Regions from separate parts of the Homo sapiens genome. Here region 2 is linked to region 1. Evidence: promoter capture Hi-C in 16 types of primary human blood cells and fetal thymus (Javierre and others, 2016). All regions are on one chromosome and are shown on one strand. The core of a region is centred on a gene start or on the middle of the fragment in contact, and the rest is flanking DNA. Distances in the headings are between cores, read along the strand shown.

What was found. The method cuts DNA at HindIII sites, captures the fragments that hold promoters and counts their contacts. A CHiCAGO score of 5 or more calls a contact.
Region 2: a contact is called between a fragment that was not itself captured here and the fragment with the promoter of PRRC2C in region 1, in 1 of 17 cell types (total B cells). The highest score is 7.2, in total B cells.

The regions. Positions count from the first base shown.
Region 1 is chr1:171,482,776-171,488,464 of GRCh38, forward strand. It overlaps PRRC2C (proline rich coiled-coil 2C), which reads left to right and starts at 2,755. Exons shown (of 35, transcript NM_001387844.1): 1 at 2,755-2,960. RefSeq lists enhancers at 2,344-2,653, 2,560-3,308. The HindIII fragment of the contact is 3,004 bases long and covers 2,561-5,564 here.
Region 2 is chr1:182,833,405-182,838,989 of GRCh38, forward strand. DHX9-AS1 (DHX9 antisense RNA 1) reads right to left here. Exons shown (of 2, transcript NR_148933.1): 2 at 268-4,530. Among named protein-coding and RNA genes, the nearest start is that of DHX9, 3.2 kb to the right of the region's middle. RefSeq lists an enhancer at 5,568-5,585. The HindIII fragment of the contact is 1,584 bases long and covers 1,808-3,391 here.

The sequences.
Region 1 (5,689 bases), core at 1,505-4,004:
TGGAAATTGAGAACTTCTATTTTCGGGACAAAATTCTCCTGTTGTGAAGATAGATGACTCAAGAAAAGTCTATACATATAACTCCACTTGTTCAGAATATGTGCTCATCAAGCAACCTTCTGATAATGCCTTGGTTTCCTGAGTAGGTTTGGCTACACAGAAAATGCACTCAGCGGGGCCAGGCACAGTGGCTCACACCTGTAATCCCAGCACGTTGGGAGGCTGAGGCAGGCGAATCACATGCGGTCAGGAGTTTGAGACCAGCCTGGCCAACATGGCGAAACCCCATCTCAACCAAAAATACAAAAATTAGCTGGGCGTGGTGGCGCCTTTGTGTAATCCCAACTACTCGGGAGGCTGAGGCAGGAGAACCGCTCGAACCTGGGAGGTGAAGGTTGCAGTAAGCTGAGATTACGCCACCTGGACAACAGAGTGAGACTCCATGGGGAAAAAAAAAAAGAAAGAAGGAAGGAAGGAAGGAAGAAAAGGCAGGCAGGCAAGGAAGGAAGGAAGGGAGGGAGGGAGGGGAGGGGAAGGGAGGGAGGGAGGGAGGGGAGGGGAGAAGGAGGGAGGGAGGGGAGGGGAGGGGAGGGAAATGAGAAAATGTACTCAAGAAAAGATAGCACCTTGGGTCCATGCTGGCATACCGGAGGCTTTCTGTTTCTGGCAAAAATTAAAAGAAAAAAAGAAAAAAAAAGTATTGGCTTTGCAGTTGTTGAGTGTTCAGGTGTATAAATTAAAGCTCTTAGAAATTAATAATTTAATACATGTCTTTTTTTTTTTTTTTTTTTTTTTGAGACAGAGTCTCGCTCTCTCGCTCTGTTGCCCAGGCTGGAGTGCAGTGGCAGGATCTGTGCTCACTGCAAGCTCCGCCTCCTGGGTTCACGCCATTCTCCTGCTTCAGCCTCCTGAGTAGCTGGGACTACAGGCGCCCGCCACCACGCCCGGCTAATTTTTTTTTGTATTTTTTAGTAGAGACTGGGTTTCACCGTGTTAGCCAGGATGGTCTCGATCTCCTGACCTTGTGATCCGCCCGCCTCGGCCTCCCAAAGTGCTGGGATTACAGGCGTGAGCCACCGCGCCCGGCCATACGTGTCAGTCTTATGACCTTGGTTAATGTAATTTCATCTGATTGCTGAAGTTGTTCTCCATTGCTCAAGACAGATGATTTGGCTGGGCGTGGTGGCTCATGCCGGTAATTCCGGCACTTTGGGAGGCCAATGCGGGAGGCTTGCTTGAGCTCAGGAGTTCGAAACCAGCCCAGTCAACATAGCAAGACCTCGTCTCTACTGGCAAAAAAAAAAAAAAAAAAAAAAAAAAGCCAGGTTTTGTGGCAAGCACCTGTAGTCCCACCTACCTGGGAGGCTGAGACAGGTGGATTGCTTGAGCCTGGGAGGTTGAGGCTTCAGTGACCTGTGATTATGCCACTACACTCCAGCCTGGGCAGCAAAGTGAGACCCTGCCTCCAAAAAAACAAAGAAAGATGTTTCTGTGACCAGGACACTATAGACCAGATCCTAGAAGGTTGTAGAAATTCACTAAAGTAATGCTTCCTTGTCCTCTTGTGGATGATCAGTAGGCTTTCCCCTGGCAATGACCCTATATCAATAAAAAAACTTTTTCTTTTCTTCTTTTCTATTTTTTCGAGAAAGAGTCTCGCTGCAGCCTCAACCTCCTGTGCTCAAGTGATCCTTTTGCCTCCAGCCTCCCAGGTAGCTAGGACTATAAGCATGTGCCACTATGCCTAGCTAGCTTTTTTTCTTTTTAATTTTTTTGCAGAGGTAGGGTCTCACTATGTTGCCCAGATTGGTCTTGAACTCCTGGTCTCAAGCAATCCTTTTGCCTTGACCTACCAAAGTATTAGTATTACAGGCATGAGCCACCAAGCAAGTCCAGACTTTTCTACTTCAAATTAATATTAGTGGGGAGGGAGGTGTTCATAATTTACCTCTCTTTATTATTTCATTTATTCTAACATTGCTACAGTGACAATTCCATGGACATACACCAGCTACTGGCGGGGAAGATCGTTCAGACCAGAAGTGGTAAGAAATCCTTGAATTTTAAATATGTCATAGGTAGTTCACAAAGAGGACAAAAGATACCATTTACTAAACATTCGCCATCTGTTCTGACATAATATTATCATCATTGTAGTCTCCCACTTCCAGATACACTCATCTGCCTATGTTACACTTGCCTAGTAAAAGCCAGCATGGGTGAATCTTACTATTCAACGGAGCTGAACACTGTGATGGAGAGATCATATAAATAAACTGAATGGCTTATCTCACATCCATAATTAGAAACTTAAAAAGTGCTCTCAGCAGCCCATGCTACTCTGTTCCTCACACTAGTTTTACTTTCACTCTCTGTGATAACTTTTCAATACACCAAGACTTCTCAGCTTGCCCCAAATTCACTGAGACATACTGGCGAACTGCTGGTTCAACCATTTACACATCCACCCACCAGACATAAGAGTGCTCATTTCACTGAGGCTTATTATCAACTTGTAAACGTGGTCAATTCAAGACTTCTTAGAAAGGTCTCAGGTCCAAGCTTTGTCCTGAAAAGATAATTCTGATTGCAGAAACTCCCTCCGTCCAGCAGGAAGCGCCAGCACCCTCTGTCGGGGTTGGGCCGCCACGGAGGCTTCACGTGATCCGGCCGTCTCTGCGCAGGAGTGTGGTCTTGCGGAGATTTGACCTACGTACTTAGCGTCATGACGTAGTACGTAGGGGCTGGCTAGCCGCCATCTTGCTTCTTTTTCTCGCTCGCTCGCTCCCCCTCGGAAAGCTGCGAAAGTGCTTTGGCGGTTTGTCCATCCGCAGCTTCGGCTTTTCCAGTCTGGTGGCCCTTCCGGCCACCCCTTTAACCCCAGCTTTCCCTCCCCCTTCTTTCGATCAGAGATCGGCGGAGACCCTCGAAGTGCGCAAACTTGACACTCACCCTGACCGGTAAGGAAAGCGAGGGTGTGGGGGCCGCGATCAAAGAGGGCCCCATCGGGAACGGCCAGAGTGCGGCCTGGGGCGTGGGAGCGCACCCAGACCCTGGCGCCCGGAGGCTAGGGGGCCGCGTGGAGAGGGCCTTGGGTCCGGGCATTTCCCTTCTGTTTGGTTACCATCATCTCTGTGTCTGGGGAAGTCGGCCTCCAGCTTGGGGAGCGGGAAACCGGAGTCAGACCCGCCCCATGTGGTCTGCAGCGGGAGTTCTGGACCGGTCTGTCTTGCTCCCACCTAGACCCCAGTCCTGGCCCTGCGAGGGGATTACGCATGTTGCCGGGTAAGCGAAGGGGGTTTCCGTCTTCCTGGACTGGCGGACGTGAAGTCTTTTTTTTTTTTTTTTTTTTTTAGTGTCGGGTATGCGTTTCCCCAAACAACTGAAGGACTCAGCCGGGGCTTTCACTGTCTACCTCTTCCTGTGTAGTGAGGGTGGGACTTGCAATGAGCAATGTATGGGAGGGTCTGGTTTAAAGACCTGGTTAGATGAGAGGCTCTTCGGGGAATCAAGACCAACCCTACTTCCGCTAGGGAAGTGCTGCCCAACTCCGGAGGAGGATTTGGGTAGTCTTTTCACACTCTAGGCCGCTCCATCCTCTAACTTGCGTGGTGAATCTCGGTAGCTCCCTGTCTTTGAGATAGCGTTGATATTGGTGGTGTCAGGGTAAAGGCCCCGTTTTAGGACTGAAGAAAAGGGCATGGGGCCACTATAGAGACATTGATAGAGTCTTCCTTCCTTTGCATGAGAGGAGTACCTTTAATTTAAAGGGATGTATGTGTGTTTTGACATTATTTGGGATCTTTTGAGGGTCTGACATGCCTGATGTTTGCTGGCTTATAAAGCTACCTGGATTTCCGCATTGGCTGGTTTTCAGCCTGGGTTCATAGATTCATACCTCGTTAGAGTACTTAGAATTGTACAGTAGGCGGCTCTGCTGTAAGATTTTCATTTGGAATGCACCAGAAGAATCGGAGGATTTTTTGATTGTTGAGTACTTAATAGCTTACTCCTGCAAATAAAAATAATAGGGTGATACTAAGCACCTACCAAGCCTAACCCCACCATTTTTCAAAACTAGATTTCACCTCCCATATTGGTAATTAAGATGCTGCTTTGACTGGAGCCATTTTTAGGTGTGTGTCACAGATGCACTGCAGCATCTTTTCTGGCTCACCCCAAATGCATTGATCCCCTAAAAAATTAGGAATAAATTGAACTTGAATTTTGTCTTTAGCATGTAGTCAAATAGTAATTCTCTCCTTTTCTGTAAGTGGATTTTCAGAATATAGCCTTTTTAAGTGATTGTGTTTGCTCTGCTTAGCTTATGTGTGGCTGTTCTCCATTAGGTGACCTTTTGCTATACACTGAGCACAGTAATAAGTCCTTTTCATACATTTTTTTTTTAATCTCCACAACAGACCTTTGAGAAAAGTGCTATTAAGATCATCCCCATTTTACAGATGAGGAAATGAAATCTGAGAGAGTAGTCTGACCAAGGTCACATAGCAGTTATTGGTGGTATTGTGTAGGTTCAATTCCATACTGTCTGAACCCAAAGGGGATGCTCTAAACCTTCAACCTGCTTTTTAAATTATAAACTACAGTAACTAAATAAGATAAAGCATTATTAACTAGTAGTTTTTCTTTAGCTTGACTAGTATATGAATATTGTTGCATGCTAAGGTTAAAGTTTTGAAAGTTGTAAAAATGGAATATATCCACTTTGGACTTGGGGTAGAGGCTAATTTTTTTGTGTCCTTTTCTATTTGAGTGCTTAGAGATAACTTAAAACTAACTCTACCATGTCGTAGATATAATTTTTAAATTTAGGCGTCTGATCTATATTATTGGTAGAATATTCCCTCATCTGTAAAATGGTGATGATAATAGGACTTCCCTCAGAGGCTTTTATAGGAGTAAAAAAAGATAATGGATAATGTATGTAAAGGGCTTATTACTATGCTTAGTGCATAGTAAAAGGTCAACTAATAGTGGAGGGAGAATGGTAGGATATTGGTAGAAGAAAATACTCTCTTCCAAGCAATAAATAATCTGTAAATTCTCAGGGTGATGTATATATTTCTTTAGGTACATAAGAAAATTTCACCTCCCCTTATCCCTGATATGTCTACTTATATGCAGGATTTTGCTTCTTAGCGATTTCTTTATGCTCTACAGTAAATATCCCTGGGATGAGTATCTTGTTCATAGCTGAAAATGCAGAAGTTCTGGCTCATTCCAGCCCCCTCTCTTCTTCTTACCCCCACCCCACCCTCTTTAGTGATAAAATGTCTTTGAAGATTATATTATATCCCTGTCTGCCTCCAAGTGCCACCCCTAAACACTACTTCAGTTTGTTAGTTAGGTAACTTGTGTTTTGGATGCTATTTATGTCATATTTGTAAATGACAAGAATTGATCATTGGTAAAATGTTACATAAGTTAGTACAGAATTGTATTCTTACAGTGAAGGACATACAAAAATTGTGTCTGAGTTATGACACACTTTCATTTCGGTAAATCGTGATTTTGTCACCTTATGAATAGGACAACACAATGAAAGCTTATCTCAGTCTATGTTAATTGTTGCTTACAAGTCTGAGAGTTACTGTGTTAGTTTTATGAGTAATAACATTTTAAATTCCTCGCTAATCTCATCGATGCATGAGCCAGAACACCTTTGTGG
Region 2 (5,585 bases), core at 1,350-3,849, about 11 Mb after region 1:
CCATGGGAGAGTCTGGAGTGTGAAAAACTGAACAGAAGCCAATGAATCAGAGCTCAGACACCAGGGAGAAAGAGTAGGAAGTGATTAATTTAAAGGGACTGCAAAGGAGCCAGTTCTTGTAAGGTGTTGTAAGTCATAGGAACATTAAACTCACACTGTTTTTCTGTGCTGTAACTTTAAGTGCTATAAATTTAGAGTGTAAAATAACTATAGGCCCCCCTAAAGACTGAAAAATTGGTACAGAAAGAAGAAAGTTTACAACAAGCCTTCAGTACATTACAGTTTGTAAATAAACTGTCTTTATTATTTCAACTTGTTGATATAACCTTGTCTCTGGAAAAATTGATTTTTTTGGTCTGAAATTGTTTAGTTTTCTTGGGTTTACAGAGAATGCATCATGATTTTCCAGTTAAAATATTATTTTCATTTAGTGGCTTTTCACTTAGCAGTAGGGTTTTCAGGAGTGAATTAAACATAATAACGAGGAAAAGGTATATTTCTATTCAGTAGCAGATAATTCTAGTATCTAAAACATTTATATATAATTCTGTCAGTTTTCTTTTTCTGCTGGCACTCAACTCATTGGACTTTATTTGTTTTTTAGAGACAGAGACAGGGTCTCACTATGTTGGCCAGGTTGGTTTTGAACTCCTGGCTTCAAGTGATCCCACACTTCAACCTCCCAAAGTGTTGGGATCACCCACATGAGCCACTTATACCCTGCCACTCATCAGAGGTACTTAAGATCCTCACCCGTTTTATGATTTTTTGAACTCGAGCTTATGTTCAGTGGAATTTTATAGGAATTATTTGAGGTCTGGATAGAAGAATATTCCACCAAAGAGAATATAATTTTAATCCTTCTAAGTGATTTATCTCTGTTGACTAATAACCGCTTTAAATAATTGGCTTGAGGTTTTTTTGGATATCAGAGGAAGTAAGTCTTTTTATTCTACCTAGCATCTAGTTTTTGATAGACAAGTTTCCTTATTATACCCCTCTTCTGGTTGGTTTGGCTTCTCATTGTTGCTATTGTTGTTCACTTTTCACTGAAGATATAAGGCTTTCTGGTTTATGTGTAGGTCTCCTCTCAGCCTCTGCATGTTGGGCAGTCTCTTTTGTCTCCTTTCTCGTAAGCCCCAATGCAGCTTTTATTAAAAGGAAGCTCAAGTTCATTAAAAATCAGCAGACCCTTTCAGGGTAGGTGCTTACGTCAGGGTTCTCTTGCCTCTCTGGATTCATTCATTCACTTCATTTATGTTTACCTCTAAAGCATTTTCTTTCTTGGCAGCACAGCAATACATTTTTTTTTTTGTATTCAACATTTTCTGTTATTTTTCAATGGTAAGTTTATTTAGGGCATCTCCATTTTTTTCAAGCTTTTGGAATCTTTTGCTTTCAATTACTCTTAAATACAGCAAATTTATATTTTGCTACAGGTTCCACTCTGAGTCATTTTTTCTTAATAGATTATTACATCCCATTTACCTTTATTGAAAATCTTTCTAAAGTAGTTTGTAGAGGGAAACATTAATTTGTTCAGGTAAATAAATACAGTAATTCTAGTATCCAATAAGAAATTACAAATTCTAGATATGTGAAACTAATTAACACTGGAAAAAAGTAAAACCCCATAACCTTATAGAAATGTGTTGTTCTTGTGGTGGCTCATGCCTGTAATCCCAGCACCTTCAGAAGCTGAGGTGGGAGGATCAGTTGAGGCCAGGTGTTTGAGACTAGCCTGGGCAACATAACAAGACCCTGTCTCTACAAAAAGAAAAGAAAGACATGTATTAGTCTCAGTTAAAGCTTGTATAAAGCAAGCAACAAAAATGCTCAAATATACAAATGCATGGGTAAATAAAGCCCTGAACCTTAATGTGGGAACCGTAAAAGCAAATGTGAATATGGCATTTCAAGACTACATAACTGAGAAGCAAGCCAAACTATAAAATAAATTAATTCCTGTAGAATAAATACAGAGAAAGCAAATGTAACTGTAAAAATGGAGCAAAACATGTTGCAAAATCCTGTGAATGTGAATAGATTTCTATATAGCCATAGAACTTGTAGATTAACAAATGGTTCAAGAAGAACTGGTACAATGGAGACAGAAAAATGACTTCCAATGTTACAACTGCTTATAGAAAAGATAAATATTCACTTATGTACAACAAGCAATAAAAAAGGAAGACGTCTAATAGAAATTGGCTTTTGAATGACCGTAATTATTAACAAGAAAATAATTTTAGAAGTATCAGATAGGTTCTATTCTTCATTCTCAAAATCTAGACTACCATTTCTGCTGGAATCCAGATTATATACTTCATCTGTGTCACTCATTGCATTAAGAGTCATCAGTCCTTTAAACCAGCGGTCCCCAACCTATTTGGCACCAGGGACAGGTTTCGTGGAAGACAATTTTTCCACGGACCAGGGGCCTGGGAGGGATGGTGTCAGGATGAAACCGTTCCACCTCAGATCATCAGGCATTTTCTCATAAGGAGCACGCAACCTAGATCCCTTGCATCTGCAGTTCACAATAAGGTTCACACTCCTATAAGAATCTAATGCTGCTGCTGCTGTGACAGGAAGCGGAGCTCAGGCGGTAATGCTTGCTCGCCCTTCGCTCACTTCCTGCTGTGCAGCCCCATTCCTGACAGGCCATGGACCTGTACCGGTCTGCAGCCCAGGAGTTGGAGACCCCTTCGTTAAGAGATCAACCAACTCTTCAATATGTCAAGATTTATGTGGGTAATTATATCAGAGGAGAGAAGGCTCTGGTCTTGTCCTCTTATAAGGGCACTAATCCCACCATGGGGGCTCTACTGTCATGACCTCATCTAAACCCAGTTATATCCTAAAAGCGCCATCTCCAAATACCATCACATTGAGGATTAGGGCTTCAGCATAAAAATTTGGGGGAGATACAAATATTCAGTCCATATCAGCATATGGATGGTGGTTGGAATATAGAAGAATAAGACTCTCCAGGTAGAGGGTATATAGAGTGCTAAGAACAGAACCTGGGTGTGACTTGCAATTGGAGTGCACACAGAGGAAGAGAAGTTGAGTAGGAGTCTAGAGGGAGTGATCAGAAATATGAGGGCAGAACCATGCTCAAAGGAACTCCAAAGGGCTTAAATTTGAGCGACAGAGGTACTCAGAGAACATTTGCTTTTGGGAGTCTCATCCTGGAGAAGATATCTTTGTATCTCTTATTTCCCACCAAACTAAGTGAACTTTCATCAGTTATTTCTAGTCAAAAAGGTAAATGTGAAATATTAAGTAGTCCAGTTGAAGCAGACCTTTCATTATTTGATCATTGAGTGACCTATAGCCTCAGTTCCAAATTCTTAAGATAGGGACAAAGTTACCTGTTTTATAATAAAGCTTAAAAAAAAATTCCCTACCCTGCTCTGTCCCACTTGACCTCTGAAATCTCCTAGTTGGTCAGCTACCAGGAACAGGTAATGGTTGTGTTGAAATCGGCCCACTTTCCATACTTTTGGGACATGTTTTAAGGCTTCATTTGCAAATGTTAAGATCTTAGACAGTGCTAGTTGCCAAGAGCCACCTACAAAGGTAATGCCAGTCCTCGGACCCAAATCCCAGGGGACTCTAGGTCTCAGGTGCAGAGCCTAAATTAAGAACCAACTCAGTAACAAAATTCTCCTTAATCCTTGGAAGCTAAAGATCCAGCTTTGAAAAATGTATTTCCATGTAATATATTGATACTTTTGTTGTGCTCATTATATACTATAAAACACTTGCAATTCATTTATGCTAGTTGAGTCTCTTTATTTATTTACTTATTTTGAGATGGAGTCTCACTCTGTCACCCAGGCTGGAGTGCAGTGGGACGATCTGAGCTCGCTGCAACTTCTGCCCCTCCTCCCTCCAGGTTCAAGCAATTCTCCTGCCTCAGCCTCCCAAGTAGCTAGGATTACAGGCACACGCCACCTTGCCCGGCTAATTTTTGTATTTTTAGTACAGACAGGGTTTTGCCATGTTGGCCAGGCTGGTCTCAAATTCCTGACCTCAGGTGATCCACCTGCCTTGGCCTCCCAAAGTGCTGGGATTACAGGCATGAACCACCACACCTGGTCTTGTTGAGGATTCTTGCATCTATGTTCATCAGGGATACTGGCCTATAGATTTTTTTTCTTGTGTCCATATCTAGTTTTGGTATCAGGGTAATGCTGCCCTCACAGGATGAGTTTGAGAACTGGTATGAGTTCTTCTTTAACTGTTCAGTAGAATTCAGCAGTGAAGCCATCAGGGCCTGGACTTTTCTTTGATGGGAGACTCTATATTACTGATTTAATCTCATTACTCATAGTTGGTCTTTTCAGGTTTTCTATTTCTTCTTGGTCCAATTTTGGTAAGTTGTATCTGTTCAGGAATTTATCCATTTCCATTTGGTTTCCAATTTGTTGGCATATAGTTGTTCATAATAGTCTCTAATGATCCTTTGTATTTCTGTGGTATCGGTTTAATGTCTTCTAGGCCCCTGCTGCTTTCAACACCCTGAAGGGTACAAAAAAAAAAAAATTAAGGTCTTTCCTTCAATGATTTTATTCTTAATTAAGGAGAACAATCACATGAAGAAAATAATAAGTAAATGATAAACTATGTTGTTCTGATTTTAAGAATGACAGTTTTAAAGGGAGTGATCACTATCAGCTAGAAGGATTAAGAAAAACATAAGGAAAGAGGTGAAAAATAAAGATCCATAGATATAATGAGCCCAGATAATTGATTAGTCTGGATTCCCTGGAACAATCCCAGCTGGAAATGTTTTGTATCATTACCTTCATGGGACGCACTGGAGTTTCAAAATTTAACAGTGACTAGTATAATAATTAAGGACACAATTATTCCAAAGACTTGGAACACAAAATTACTCCAAAGACTTGGAACACAAAAGGTTATCCAATTTAAACAAAAGCAACCTTGCAGATTTTATTCCTACCTTAAAGTAGTTTGCTGAGCACTTACAGTAATGTTCCAGGCACGGCAAGGAGCGACCTGCGTTAGCCAGGCAGAATGCCCGCCTTCACTGAGCTTATTTCTTTCATGGTTTTTTTTTTTTTTTTTGAGACGGAGTCTCGCTCTCTCGCCCAGAAAATGGCGTGATCTCGGCCCACTGCAACCTCCGCCTCCGCCCCCGACCCCGGGGTTCAAGCGATTCTCCTGCCTCAGCCTCCCGAGTAGCTGGGATTGCAGGAGCCCGCCCAGCCACCCAAGCAGCTGGGATTGCAGGCGCCCGCCCCCATGCCCGGCTAATTTTTGTATTTTTTTTTTTTTTTTTAGTAGAAACGGGGTTTCACCACGCTGGCCAGGCTGGTCTCAAACTCCTGACCCCAAGTGATTCGCCCACCTCGGCCTCCCAAAGTGCTGGGATTACAGTCACCACGCCCGGCCAGTTTATTTCTTTCAAGAGACACTGGCGTTCAGACTATCTGAATCAATCCGGTAACTACGCCCACTGAACACCTACTACATGCCAGGTATTGAACTAAGCCGCCCTTCATATGCCATCTCATGTAATTATCTCAACAACCCTACCAAGTTAGCAGCAA